Linked DNA regions of Homo sapiens: regions 2 and 3 are each linked to region 1. The links are contacts of gene promoters, found by promoter capture Hi-C in blood cells and fetal thymus (Javierre and others, 2016). All regions are on one chromosome and are shown on one strand. The core of a region is centred on a gene start or on the middle of the fragment in contact, and the rest is flanking DNA. Distances in the headings are between cores, read along the strand shown.

Region 1 (4,799 bases), core at 986-3,485:
CTCTTAACATGTTTCCTTTGCTAATAACAAAGTAATAATTAAAGCAAGCATTGCAAAAACAAAAACCAAAGCAATAATCCTTTTACTCTAAAAACGGTTCAGAAAAAAGCCTCAAAGCATATTTCAAAATATTGTGGTAACAATTTTCAGCATATACTAATCTGACAAAGGCTCATGTTTTTAGTTGTTGTTCTTTGCCCACTAAGATAAGCAAAATTTATCTCAGCCAAAGAGGGAAGTCAATGGTGATTTAAAAAGAAAAAACCAAAAACTCTCAAAAATAGTGTCATTTGCAAGTAGGGAAAAGAGAATCAGGCCTGGCGCAGTGGCTCACGCCTGTAATCCCAGCACTTTGGGAGGCCGAGGCGGGCGGATCGCTTGAGCTCAGAAGTTCAGGACCAGCCTGGGCAGCATGGCGAAACTCCGTCTCTACAAAAATTAGCGAGGTGCGTTGGTGTGCACCTCTGTCCCAGCTCTTCCGGAGGCTGACGCCGGAGAATCGCTTGAGCTTGGGAGGCAGAGGTTGCAGTGAGTCGAGATCGCGCCATTGCATTCCAGCCTGCCTAGGCTGTGGGAGTGAAACCCTGTCTCAAAAAAAAAAAAAAAAAAAAAAAAAAAAATTGGACCTTTTCTTTTATAGGTCTGGGTGAATGTAGTTCTGTCTCCTACCAGAATAGCCAGACATCTGGGAGCCAGGCCTCCCTGACCCAGGCACAAATACCCGCATACTTCTAAAACAATAGCTAAGAGTCAATCACACCCAGGCATTTCAAATATTATCAACAAGTTGTATTGGTTAGCTTTACACTAAGGCCTGAGGCTTCAACATCTGTAGGGCATAGTCTGGTAGCCAAAGCTTCCCCAAATGGCAATTGTTTGGGATTACCCTGGGGACTCCTACTTACACATAGCTCTAGAAATGTAAATACAAGTCATATAATTTCATTCATCACTGGCTATGGGTAGAACCCAACTACCCAAAATTCCTGCTCTATTAAATCTAATTCATTAAGTTTCATTAAAATGGTAAATGATGTGTAATAGTAAAGATTTTGGCTAATTAAATATTATACAAATGAAACAATAGATTCTTATATGGCAGAAAAGCTTTTTTTAAAAATCAGGGTCAAATATATCTATATCAACAAGCATTCTTTGAAGTATTTTTTGATCTTGCTAATTTTGCTAATCATTAGTAAATTCGTGAAAGTTGGTATTGTGATTGCTAAATATTTCCCAGGAATGAAAGAAGCAATTTTCAACTTTTCTGGATGAGCTGAACATAATACTACGGTTCTTGGATGATGAGTAAAAGAAAGTCTTGACATTAATACTTAGATACAATATTGTTTCTCAATACAGTTATTAAATATATTTAGACTACAATACGCATTACCTTAAAGACAATTTATCATGTTTTAAATGCTGGAGGGCTAATTTTCAGTAGGAGTGTGTAATTAGCAAAGGCGCCAGAGGCCATAAGACGGTAGAATAGAGCTGGGAGAGGCACGGGAGGAAAGCCGGATGGAACCCTGTTGTCTTTCTGGGTCAGGGTTATTCTGTACCGGTTAAACGGTGAAAGAGAAAAGGTCAGCGCAGGAATGTGGTATTTCCCTGACATCTCCAGATGAAAGTCCGGGCTCTAGGACTTCTGTAGACTGTGAAAGCAGCCCACGATTCTAACTTGCATGCACCTAAGTGGCAGTAGGTTTAGGATGAAAGTGGTGGGGCGGAGGCCGGCGGTCCTCGCCCGTGCCCTCTGCACCCCTGTCCCGAGGCCGGGATGGCCGCGCCCACTCTGGGTAAATTTCAGGAGGGCCTACGCGGGGCTGGAGAACTCCACCGGGCTATGCGAACAGAATCCTGCGAAGGTCGGCATTAAAGGAATACGCAAAATCAGCGTTGCAGCCCCCGCGGCTTAACCGCATCTATTTTTATATCTAAGCCAAGGTCACTCTTTAATACCAGGCCATTGCCCTGAGCTGGGCGTCGCGCTGCCGGGTGACGGCGGCCGGGGCGGAGAGAGGGGGCGCGGGTGGCGAGGCGGGGGCCGCGTGACGCCCCCGGGCTGGCCAAGCCCGCACCTGCCGGGCCGGCGCCTGAAAGCCGGGGCTGGAGGGAGGCAGGGCGGCGTCCCAGGCTCCGAGGAGGGGCCGCTCCGCGCTGGCGGGCGGGGGGATTCGCGGTGGGCGCGGGCGCGGAGCGGAAGCGAAGGCTGGAGGCGCTGCGGCGCTAGTGCGTCACGTCGTCGGAGGGCACGGTGGGCCGCGGCCGACCCGCGACGAGGAGCCGGGCGTCCGGGGCGAGCGGGAGGCAGCCGCACTCGCCCTGGCAGCCGCGAGCTGTGCGGCCTGGGACCGGCCGGAGGTCGCCAGCGAGCAGCCGCCGGCTCCATTCATTCGCGCGGCTCCGCCTCCTTTCCCGGGCTCTTCCAGCGGCTCCCGGGGCGCGTCTGAGGTGAGTGCGCTCCCTCTCCCCGGCGCGGACCGCTGGGTGAGGCCGAGACGGCCGCGCCGGGCCCCGCGCCCCCGCCAGCACCAGACCCGCGGACACCGAGCGGCGACGCGGGCCACCGGCTGTGGGCGGCCCCTGCGGGCTGGGCCTGGCGCAGACCAGTGCGGGCCGCCTGGACCCGGGGCTCGCGTCCAGCTGGCGGCGGTCTGCGGGGATCCCGTAGGGCGTGTGGCGCCCCCAGGTGCGCCGGCCTCCGCCTCGGCGCCACCATTTTGTGTGAGGGAATGCCCGTCTTCGCTCGCCTCCGCCGCGGGCCGGTTCGCAGCTGCGGCTTGCCGCCCCCTCCCCTCGCCCTCTCCCCACCTGGATGCTTGGCGTGCGAGCTGATTGCTTTGGCTTGGGGAGACGCGGACTCGGGGAGGTGTGGAACTTCAGCGTTTAGACTCGGTTCACCCGACCAGGTGGCCTCCAGAGATGCTCTGACCGCCTTCCTTTACCTGTAACTACTTTTGGAACAGATATTGTATGATTCTCCCTCCTCTGGAATGCTGGTCGTTGCAGTTTTGTCCTAATTGTGTTCTCAGCTCTCCATTATGCCATTTTTCAAGAGGCCTGTGCCTCAGGAGGTGAAGCCTTGAACCCTGGGTGGTTTATGGCTCGGGGGTCTGGATTACACTGACTCCCATGACTGTCCTTGGGGAGAAAGGATGAAGCATCTCACTGGCTTTTCAGCGTCTGGGAAGCGGCGTGGGTATCGTATCGGGTGGATTCGAAGATAACCACCTGATGCAGGTCACCTTCCCCCGCTGGGAGAGCCGTTCCTAACGTAAATTAAAACGTGTGTACGGGTTTTTGGGGGATTGGGACCGGAGGGACATATTTCTAAAAAATTTCCAGAAGGGAAAGTTTTCATTGTGATTCTCACAGAACTGTGACACAATTTGTCATTTTCAAGGTTCCTGAGAATTTGGGAATTCTTTTAATTCGTTGGCTTCTTGCGAATTACTACTTACGAACTGAGCAGATTATACCCAAGCCATTTATATTTTGTCATTGCATCACAGACAGGGATTACAATCGGGAGTGCTGGCTGTTGCATAATGCACACATTTGGGCCCTGGAGGGAATTCACCGAAGTGGATCTGGGTTTGGTGTGCCATGCGTTTTTATTTTTTACACAGGATGTACAGATGATCTTTGCAAACTACGTCCCTTATCGTGCTATAAAGTGTTTACAAGAGGAAAGATTTTTATTGACTAGTATGGACCAGACTAAAATTTTTAGTGTTTTAGTTTTGCTTGTTTTGGAGGAAAGGCAAGGAATGAGATGGTGAGAGGCACCTGGGAAAAGTCCGTTTATCCTAACACTTGAAGCGCAAACAAAGATAAAACATGATCGTCTTTCACAGAAATCTTGTAGCTATTATAGTGGACTTTTCTCTAAGTTAATGATGGGGATCTGTTTGGGGAACTTAGAAATAGCTTATGTGAGTAGCAACATTGACCTTCCACATGAGTGACCATAAATTAAGGTGTTTTACCTGTGGATTTTAGGTTCTAAAAGGCTTCAAATTAGTCTGACCTTTGAGATAGTATTCATGTCATTACAAGTGGTATTTATTTAATAAAGATGGGATATAGGCCGGGTGCGGTGGCTCACACCTGTTTTCCCAACACTTTGGGAGGCCAGAGCGGGTGGATCACGAGGTCAGGAGTTCAAGACCAGCCTGGCCAACATGGTGAAACCCCGTCTCTACTAAAAATACAAAATTAGCCGGGTGTGGTGGCACATGCCTGTAATCCCAGCTACTCGGGAGGCTGAGGCACAAGAATCACTTGAACCCAGGAGGCAGAGGTTGCGGTGAGCCGAGATCGTGCCCTTGCACTCCAGCCTGGGCAACAACAGTGAAACACCAAGATGGAATATATATCCAACAAAGGATTTTGATTTGGAGAAAACAAAATAATTAAGTGCTTTTGAGGTAAAGTTTCCATGCCATCCTCCTTATTAAATTAAACTATTTATTTTCTGTTTTGTTGAAGACTCTCCCACTAATTTTGTCTTCAAACAAGTGATTACATATTGTGTACCATCCCTGGCAAAAATATCGTGCTTCCCATTATAGATATGTTTATTCTATAGGGAGAATTATGGAGGCGAGAAGAACCTTGGACATTTAGAGATGAGTCTTGGTTTAGGGAATTTAAGTAAGCAAAGATTGCCTGCTAGAGATTGCAGGTGACCTGTCTGGACCTATCCTAGGCCTATGGGGAATGAGATTTTTTTTTTTCTAGCAAATAACAGTGCTGAGTCAAACACAACTCTTAAACTTTTACATTGATTC
Region 2 (4,799 bases), core at 1,070-3,569, 970 kb after region 1:
AAGTTCTCCCCCTCCCACTAGCGCTAATCCTGTCAAAATTCTCAGTATTTTCAATTCTATAAACTTAGTCCTTCCACCACCCTGGCCTCTCATCCTCTGGACTTTCTCATCTCCAATGACCTTGCCCTTCACCCAACCTCGGCCACCATCTCCCATTGTTATTACCAACATCTGCACTTCACCCTCTTAAGTCTATTCTCCACACAGCAGTCAGGAGGTACCTTTCAAACCACAAGTCAAGTCCCTCCTCCACTCAAAATTCTCTAATGCTTCCCATCCCACTCAGGATGAAATTCCAAGTCCTTCTCTCCCGCCATGCAACCTGAGACCTAGTGAACCCTGGACTCATCGCCTGCACTGCTCACCCCACCCTCCCTTCCCTCAGCCTGTGCTGTCCCCCTGCCTGCTCCTCAGGCGAGCCTGGCACTTCCATGCACCAGGACCTTTGTGCCGGCCATTCCCTACGCCTGGAAGACTCTCCCTCAAGATACCACTTAGCTTTCTTCCTTCATGTCCACTTACATATCATTATATCAAAGAGGCCTTCCCTGGCCACCCTATCTAAAACAGAGCGATCCCAACTCCATCACCCTCTCTCTCCCTTATCCTGCTTATTTTTCTTCATAGCACTTGATACAACCTGACATATTTCTTTCTTTATATTTGGCTATTTCTAGAAATATAAGTTCCAGCCGAGTAAGGACCTTGTCTTGTTCTGCTGTATCCTCAGCACCAAGACCACAGTGCATGGCACTTAGCAGGTGTTCAATAAACATTTTCTGAACGTGTCGACCCAAACCCTTCTCACAGCAGTTTACCTTCTTTCAGTGCTGCTGCCAGTAATGAGGCTGCCTGGGGAGGCTCGCCTGGGTCAGGTTTAATAAGGAGGTGGGGCTCTAGATGGACGTCCTCAAATCCGCTCAGTTCTCCAAGTTCAGCATAGATATGCAGCTTCTCCTCCAAATACGCACAAATTTGTTGGTCTTGGTTAGTGAGTATTTCTATGAAATAGTATTTACCATAGAAGATTATCACTAACATGAATACAACCACTAATGTGAAAGTCCACGAAAAAGATGTTGCTAATTAGCAAGCAGTAAGACCTCCAAGAGAAAACCCAGGTTGATGAGTGGGGCAGATGCAGGTCTCAGTCCTGACCATGCCACTTAGTGACTGTGGCCTCCAGCAAGTGACTTAACAACTTTCTCAGCTTCCATTGTCTTTTCTGTAAATAAGGTTCCTTTCTCAGTCCCCTACTTCCAGAAAATTTGCAAAGCTATTCTTTGTTTGTTCAGGCTGTTTTCTATTAAGACTAAACATTAAGCTTAGGAATGAAAATTGAGGCGGCCCTGTCCATGATGAGTGAACAATACAAATGCCTGGAACGGCACAGGCTAAACCAAACATACTGGTTTAAGTTTTTGTTTCTAAACATCCAATTTCTTTGCCCATCTTTGCATGCATCATTGTCCTCAGATTTCAACATGTTACAGAATTCTTAAAGCTCAAAGGGACCTTAACTAGCATTGAATCCAGGAATTCTCAGTCCCCTCTGTGCTTCAAAGTCACCTTGGGAGAGCTGAAAACCCCAAAGTCTACATCCCACCTGCCACAGATTCGGATTCAATCGGTGGAGGGTGAGGCCCAGGCATCCGTATTTTTAAAGACCTCTCAACTGATTCCAGTGTCCAACCAGAGTAGAGAATCACTGAGCTAGTCTAATCTCCTTCTTTCACACACTTGCAAACTGGGGACAAGATCTGTTGGGTTCCTTGTCCAAAGTCATTGACATGACAGTGCTGAGACCTAAAATTAAACCATGAGACAAATAATTCCAACATTCATCTGCACCACACTGCCCACAGCTGTTGTTTCATATATGTTATGTGCATTTTTTACATCCATTTTAATCACTAAGGTGGAAGTGAAGAGAATGTCATCTTATTTGAGCATTTCTAGTGTAAGTTTCTCGGGAGGGTGGTCCAGGTGGGCCTCAGGTGCACAGGATGAATCATGTAGTTATAACCTCCTGTTCATGACACTCAGGCTTTCCCAACACCCAGGAGAACACCACGACCAGGGAGCCAGAAGTGCCTGCACTGTACCTTGACATTGCTGAATTTTGGCCACTCTGGCTTCAGCTTTCCTCTTGTCTTCATCAGATTCACTTGTCCTTCCCCCTTTTTCTTCAGGACAACTTTAAAAGACAATAGTCAAGAGACACAACTGAAACCAAATGCAAGTATCTGTAGATTCATTAGAAAAACATGGGAACTTGGCAATAGATTTATTCATAAAGGAGAAAATTTCAGCATAAAGGGAATGCATCATCCCCCCTGGCCAGAGACTTGGTTTTCTTGAGAATACAAAGAATCTTGCATAACATTACATGGCTCTCAAAATCGGTGGTGTGGGATGACTCAAATATTCCAGTGAACACAAACATACACTCACCACACACACCCATAATGGGAATAAAGTATAAGAATTGTAAAGGATAGAAGTGGGGTGCCAGGGCAGATGGGGTGCAGTAGAGGTAGAGAAATTTTATATAACTTCAGGATCTAACTAATCAAACTACTGTTGAGAATGATCACCCCCACCCTTGTGCTCCCAATTATAAAAACTGTCCTTGCACAAGTAATGAGGAATAAATTGACTTAGAATACTTAGATCCACCAATTCAGAAACATTTATTGAATGATTTCTCAGCACTAGGCACACAGAGAAACATAAGACATGAACCCTGCCCTCGAGGAGCTTCCAATCTAATTAAATAAACACACACATATGTACATAAAAAAGATAATAGCTACAAGGCAGTATATAAGAAGCATCAAGTAAATGCTTTAGTGAGCAGGTGTTAAAGAATTTCAGGCAAGAAAGAGATCACCAGGACTGAAGGGGTCCTCATGGAGGAGGGGAGGCCCGAGCTGCATCAACGCCCGGCAGGGTGCACACAGGCAGAGGGAGGTGCAGGCATTACATGCAGGGAGGCGTGGAGGAGAAAGCTGCAGATGGGGGGCTATCGCAGGCAGGTGCAGGGGGCAGGGGGCAGACCATTCTGGCAGAGGCAAAGTTTTCATGCAGGAAGACATGGTTAGAATATTTTCCCCAGTTGAACAACTCTGTTCCATAGATTATGGACGGAAGGAAATGTTACCTTTCTACAGCCTGCTGGATCCGTCTCATCCAGTTATTGCGTTCCTCCTTGGAATTGGTGTGAATTTCATACATCTCAGGACCAGCAGATGAAGCACTGATCAGAAACATTCCTCTCTCCTCATTAGCAACTTCTCTAGCAATAAGCTTTTGAAGGGAAATAACTGATGGCTTCTGATCCTACATAAAATAGGAAGGTGAGCAGATGAAACAGCATCCTAGCTAAAGTAAGGCTCCGTAAAACATGAGCTAAAGGAAGCAAGAGTACTAGGTAAACCTTTCTCCACTTCCAATCTTTTCAAAAGAGCTGTAGAAGTTGATACAATCTCCAATGGAGACGGTATGGAAAAGAGAGGATGGAAAAAGAGGAATTATAGGCATGCTCATCCTTAAGAATTGGTGGTTTAGGCCGGGCCCAACGGCTCCCTCCTGTAATCCCAGCACTTTGGGAGGCCGAGGCAGGTGAATCACTTGAGGTCAGCAGTTCAAGACCAGCCTGGCCAATGTGGTGAAACCCCATCTATACTAAAAACACAAAAATTAGCCAGATGTGCTGGTGTGCGCCTGTAGTCTCAGCTGCTTGGGAGGCTGAGGCATGAGAATTGCTTGAACCTGGGAGGCAGAGGTTGCAGTGAGCGCACTCCAGCCTGGGCAACAGAGCAAGACTCCATCTCAAAAAAAGAAAAAAAAAAGGAATTGGTTGTTTAAAAACTGAACTTTTTAAAAGACAGAACAATCAGAGAAGAAAAATATCAAAATGCCATAGTCAAGGCAGGAGAAGTTTTTCTAAGAGAGCATGAGATAGGAAACTATGTCAAATGTCAAAGAGACTGAGAAGGAGGGAGGCCCTAAAAAGTCCATTAGACTTGCAATACTCTTTCAATAAGGTGACGGAACAGAAGCCCAGAAACTCAGAAGCCCAGCCCATGGACTATAAAAGTGACTACAAAAGATACGAATAAGTGGCAAGACCTTTGATTCCCCAGGCGTAACCAATCCTTTTTGCTACTGTCATGTGGGTCACAGCAACAAAATGGTCTACAAGTTCTTGCCTCTTCTCACCAAGCAGATGAGCCCTTGGTGGGTGGGAATGGGTCTCATTCATCTTCATGCACCTAGCACATAGCCAAGCATAGAGTAGGCACTCAATAAATGTTGGTAGGACTAGTTTCACATAAGTCCACCACAGGGTAATAGGAAGAAAGTCTAAAATTTGGCATGTACGCCATGATTAAACCACCTCTTCTACCAACATCTACTGTGATCCTCCAATGTCTTTTTCTAAACACTGGGGATTCAAAGAGGAACAGCACACTGATGATGCTTGGTAGGTAGATGTAGTTGAAAGAATGGCCAAAAGAATGACTTCAAGATGAACAGTTTGGGGGATAATATGAAGAATTCTTCTTTGGTCTGTGGCTTCCACCAGTGTTTACAGAGCTGGTTGCAGTGTGTGGTTTTGCTTCACCATCATGGACTGAGCGACGCCTTTATCCAGAACATGCCACTGTTCCCTCACTGCTGACTCCTTGGTGCTGGCTTGTCGGCTTTCCCAGCATCATACAGCTTGGCCATATCAGAGGCTGTGTGCCATGGTGACCCAGAGTACCTCCTCACCCCACGCTTCTCAGAGTAGC
Region 3 (4,799 bases), core at 1,659-4,158, 960 kb after region 1:
TACAATTTTTCCCATCAGCCTTACTGTTCCAGAAATTCACATTTTCACTGATCTGAGCTGATCATCTATCCACAGTACCAGACTAGGCAAAAGGGCAAACCATTCTTTAAGATGTTACCTGGAACGGCAGACGTTATGGCCTAACAATGAAAGAGTGACTGAAGCCTGAATGAAATCATGGTTAAGTACACATTTAGCTAAAATACCAGCCCACAACATTATAGGCAAATTATGTTAGCCAGATTACAGTGAACTATGGAGATCCTCAGTAGTGGTCACTGATGGCCACTCACCCAGATTCAGCAGCAAAACACAGAAGAGGGGACAACAACACTGCCTGGTCCTTGGTTCTGGCACATCAGCTGTTACCACCCAGCACACCCTGGAGCCTGCTTCTTCCTGTCCGGCCCCCCGCAGTCACTGTCCCCCAAGATCATGTGTGGCAAGCGCCCACGGAGCCTAGCTAAGGCCATCACCAGTGGCTGATGTTGTGTTACTGTCAATGATAAAAGCTGTGAAAGCTCTGGAGGGTTTGAATAATTTTATCTAGCCTTGACCACTCTTTTAAGTGTATATATCCTATTCTCAATCCACTTTCTTATCACCGCCTATTCTCTGACTTTCTTTTCTCCCCTGTAGAAATTGCTTATCATGAAGTAAACATAAATAAGGTTTTTTGACTAGCTGCAAAACTCCAGTGGTGAACAGTACACACAGCATTTCTGATGTAATCCCTACTTATATAAACCAGGATGTTCCTGAGAGATTTAAGCCACAGTTGACTTTCTTCTCTCCTGTCAATGTCCTGAGCGTCCTTGGCCTACTCTGGACATACAATTTCTTAAGCGTAAGTACATTTCTCAGCATTTCCTTTGGCTCTAATTCCTTACATGTGGATAGACTGGTTTTGTATATAATCACTGTTTATTTCCTTAGTACATTTTCTATCTACTGCAAGTATGCTGCCAAATGGTTTAAAAAGTTTTACTTTGAAGCACAAGTCAATAGAAAAAGATGGGAGATACACAAAAAGTAAGAGACATGCTTCTTTTAAACAAAAGCTGAATGTGGTTTAACTCAAACTGAGTTTCGGAATTATACCAAAGCCAGTATGTAAAACCATGCTGACAAAACCACATGAAGCACTGTAAATAGCAGATTAATGAACCAACACAGCAAAGCAACATGTGCTTAGAAAAAGAATTCTGCAATCTGCTCTCTATTGTAGTAAAGTTGTAAGATAATATATTAAAGAAGTTACATTTTTCAAAATTTGGCTTGACCTTTTATTTAATCTGAACGATTCCATCATATTTTTTCTTTACCTAAAGAATATCTGAAATAATACTTTAAAAAACTATTTCATTCTCTCCTATATGCTGACAAGAAAGAAGAATGTTACCACGGTGACTTAAGTAATGTAAAGAATTAGCCACTATTAAGAATCAACATCTTTTGGATCAGTAATAAATCAACTTATAAGCAGTATCAGAATTATTACTCTTGAATTGGGAGAAGCCAAATACCTTCAAACCTTTTTGTTGCTGAAAAATTATCCTCCAACTGACAAACTAAGAATATATATTAAGCATAGAAACAAATCTGTATCCAGTTCTGAAGACTTCTATACTACTGCTTGTTTTATGTTTCTGAAACATTTTGCTGTGGGTGATTTATTTCACATCCATGTGGCCAGCCATTTGTTTATTCTATTGCATGCCATCTGTTTTTCGGTAGAGAGGTTTCAAGTTCTTCTCATTCCCTACCTCATATCCCCCAGAAAACAATTTATAATAGACATAGATTTAAATCATTCGGATTCATGTGGAGCTGGTAACACGAGCTGCCTTTCATTTATACTTGGCAAATGCTTTAATGGGATTAGCAAATTGTGTTATTATGAGGTACTTATGGAGAGACAACACTTTTTTTTTTTTTTACAATGACAAATGATGTTAACAGTTTCATTTTGGGTGTTTAATAGCAGTACAGAAGATTTCACTAACGTTACAGGAAATTGCCCTGATAAAGTCCCACTACCAACCCTGTTGGTATCTGTTATTATTTCTGAGTGTCAACATAGGTGTTTCAGGATGTAGTGGGGTCCACAATAGTGGGGAGTAAATATCAAGTTGCTTTACTTTTAAGAGGACATTATTATTTTAACCCACACATCTAAAAATCCTGTCTGGTTCTCACATGTTGTGAGCATTCTCTAAGCCCTATGACCATGGTCTCACTTGTCTAGGTAACTTACAAGCAAAGGCTGTCCCCAGACTTCCCCAAAGAAAAGTGAATGCCACAAACTCCAGCTCATCAGTACCGATTTATTCCCATGCTAGGGAGGACTTTGATTCACTCTACACAAGAGCCAACCATTCAGAGGGACAACTTCTTGTTCAAACTATACAGATGATGTTTAAAGTGTTAATTACCATTTTTACAAGAATCCTTGCTGCTTTCATGGAAAGGAAGTATCTGATGGCCGGAACCAGCGGCTGTCCACAGTTTGTGACTGACATTCGAAGGCTGAGAAGGGTCCACCTTGAGGTCTACTTGATGTTCACTAGTCCTCACCAAGTCAGAATGAGATTGAGTTGTAGGGTAAGTGGCATCCTGATGGATAACTGATGGATTCAGTTTGTTGAAAGTGTTAAATGACATTTGTACTAAAGCTTCATTGATGAAGAATGAGTTTTCATGACATAAACTCTCAGATCGATTAAGTTCCATTACCTGTGTAAAGAAACAGAGGAAAAGTACAATAATTTTTCTAACTTATACAAGTTTCATAAAGTATTTATTCCTGAGAGAATCTTAGGAATCAAGATTTCAGTAAAAGTGAGGTCAAGATTACCACTTCTTTTCTCCCTCCCCTCTCCCATACTCTTTTAATGAGCTAGTACCAAAAACTTCAATTTGCTATGCATGGCATATCTTTAACAACAACAACAAAAAAAGTGGCACTCTATGACATTAAAGTGTTTCCACTTTATTTTAATCAGAGAAAGCAGCAGTTTTTACTTTTGCTAAATAAAAAAGTTGAAAACATATCCATATATACATGAGGAGTTTGCAATAAACATAATTTAGCCAACTTAAAAGGAAAAACAGATTGCAACAGAGATCTTGTAAGCTTATCAACTTCTACAACTTTAGGCACTATCAGTAAAAAAACATACATGCACATAACACAGGAAAATAAATTTCTGGGACGAATAGGATTCTCAAGCATGATTAGAAAAGACACAAATAAATAACTCTTATTAGTGAAATGGATTTTGAATTTACTATATCAAATTTACAAAGAGAGAAGAAGCTCAGCATAACAGAATAGTACTATACTTGCTAAATTCAGTGCCTATAGTATATATTCATAGTTAATTGATCTTCTAAAAGCTACATCTAATAGAACTCTTAAGACAGATCATATAAAGAGAGTCCTTCAAATACTGGAAAAAGAGCACGCTCGCAGTGAGTGTGCCTCCAGGACAAACCCACCCTGGCCTTTCTAGGACAACTTGATTCTGTGTTTGTTCCTTAGGGTAAGGGCATCTCAGGCAGAGTGCAGTGATCCCATAGGACTTGGGCCCTCACATTGTCCTTTTTTTTTTTTTTTTTTTTTTTTTGAGATGGTGTTTTACTTTTGTCACCCAGGCTGGAGTGCAATGGCGTGATCTCGGCTCACTGCAACCTCCGCCTCATGGGTTCAAGTGATTCTCCTGCCTCAGCCTCCTGAGTAGCTGGGATTACAGAGGCCCGCCACCAAGCCCAGCTAATTTTTGTATTTTTAGTAGACACGGGGTTTCACCATGTTGGCCAGGCTGGTCTCGAACTCCCAACCTCAGGTGATCTTCCCGCCTCGGCCTCCCAAAGTTCTGGGATTACAGGCATGAGCCACCGCGCCTGGCCCGCACTGTCCATATTTTAAGTCAAAATGGATATGCGTTATCTCTGAAAGCTTCCAGCTTTGGCTACCTACAAATTGAAAAATCCTCATGAGGTCTTCTTACACAAATCCAAAATGACAGATGTTTGGTTAGTGTCCTAGGAGCCCCCAGGCCCACCCCTGTCTTTGAGAGGCTGCCTCACAGCACCGCAGAAGGTCCATACCTCGGGGCCACCCGGAAGGAGCACCGCGGGCAGGCTCCTCTGCCGGCCGTGCTTCCAGTGGCCCAGCAGGCTCTGCTGGGCCCGCATCCTCGCCTGCTCCCTCTCCACCAGGCGCTGGCCCTCCCTCAGCCGCTCCAGGCTGTGCTGGTACTCCTGGAGCTGGAGGTCCAGCTCGCCCCGGCTCCGCAGCAGCAGCTCCTCCTGCGACTGGCACTCCCGCTCCCGCTCCTGCAGCCAGCTCTCCCTGGTCGCCTGCGCCCGCTGCTGCTGCTCACACCTGCGCAGCCAGCGCCGCTGCTCCTGCTGGAGCTGGTGCTGAAGCTGGTGCACATTGGCCAGCTCCTCATGCTGCCTGTCCGCGTCGCGAGACTTCTGGTCCTGCAAGGGGCCGCCTCGGAGGATAGAGTGGCCGAGAGACAGGCCCTCCTGCTGCTGGAGAACCAGCCTGTGGATCTCAATGTGGCTGTCCTGAATGGTCAAGGCGGCCTGTCAGAGCAGACAGAGGAAAAATCACTGAACACAAGGTTCCATGGTTATTGTTTACCCTTTCGGTTGGAACTACCTCGAAACACAAAACGCAGGCCCGAATTCACTTCTCTTAATATTTCTGGCCTTTTTCTAAGTTACCTCCAAAGGCAAGGTTTTTGGCGTTCCAGAGAGGTGTGTCTACATCTGTCCTAGGGGTA

The links. The method cuts DNA at HindIII sites, captures the fragments that hold promoters and counts their contacts. A CHiCAGO score of 5 or more calls a contact.
Region 2: a fragment that was not itself captured here is called in contact with the fragment with the promoter of FAM169A in region 1 in 1 of 17 cell types (fetal thymus); the score reaches 7.6 in fetal thymus.
Region 3: a contact is called between a fragment that was not itself captured here and the fragment with the promoter of FAM169A in region 1, in 1 of 17 cell types (erythroblasts). The highest score is 5.1, in erythroblasts.

The regions. Positions count from the first base shown.
Region 1 is chr5:74,863,823-74,868,621 of GRCh38, reverse strand. It overlaps FAM169A (family with sequence similarity 169 member A), which reads left to right and starts at 2,235. Exons shown (of 13, transcript NM_001376049.1): 1 at 2,235-2,457. FAM169A-AS1 (FAM169A antisense RNA 1) reads right to left here and starts at 2,729. Exons shown (of 1, transcript NR_134288.1): 1 at 1,347-2,729. RefSeq lists silencers at 2,299-2,548, 2,619-2,788. The HindIII fragment of the contact is 5,081 bases long and covers 1,110-4,799 here.
Region 2 is chr5:73,890,595-73,895,393 of GRCh38, reverse strand. It overlaps ARHGEF28 (Rho guanine nucleotide exchange factor 28), which reads right to left. Exons shown (of 36, transcript NM_001177693.2): 27 at 3,164-3,342; 28 at 2,106-2,197; 29 at 819-1,001. Among named protein-coding and RNA genes, the nearest start is that of LINC02122, 210 kb to the left of the region's middle. The HindIII fragment of the contact is 1,985 bases long and covers 1,327-3,311 here.
Region 3 is chr5:73,909,212-73,914,010 of GRCh38, reverse strand. ARHGEF28 (Rho guanine nucleotide exchange factor 28) reads right to left here. Exons shown (of 36, transcript NM_001177693.2): 34 at 4,114-4,599; 35 at 2,436-2,736. Among named protein-coding and RNA genes, the nearest start is that of LINC02122, 190 kb to the left of the region's middle. The HindIII fragment of the contact is 461 bases long and covers 2,678-3,138 here.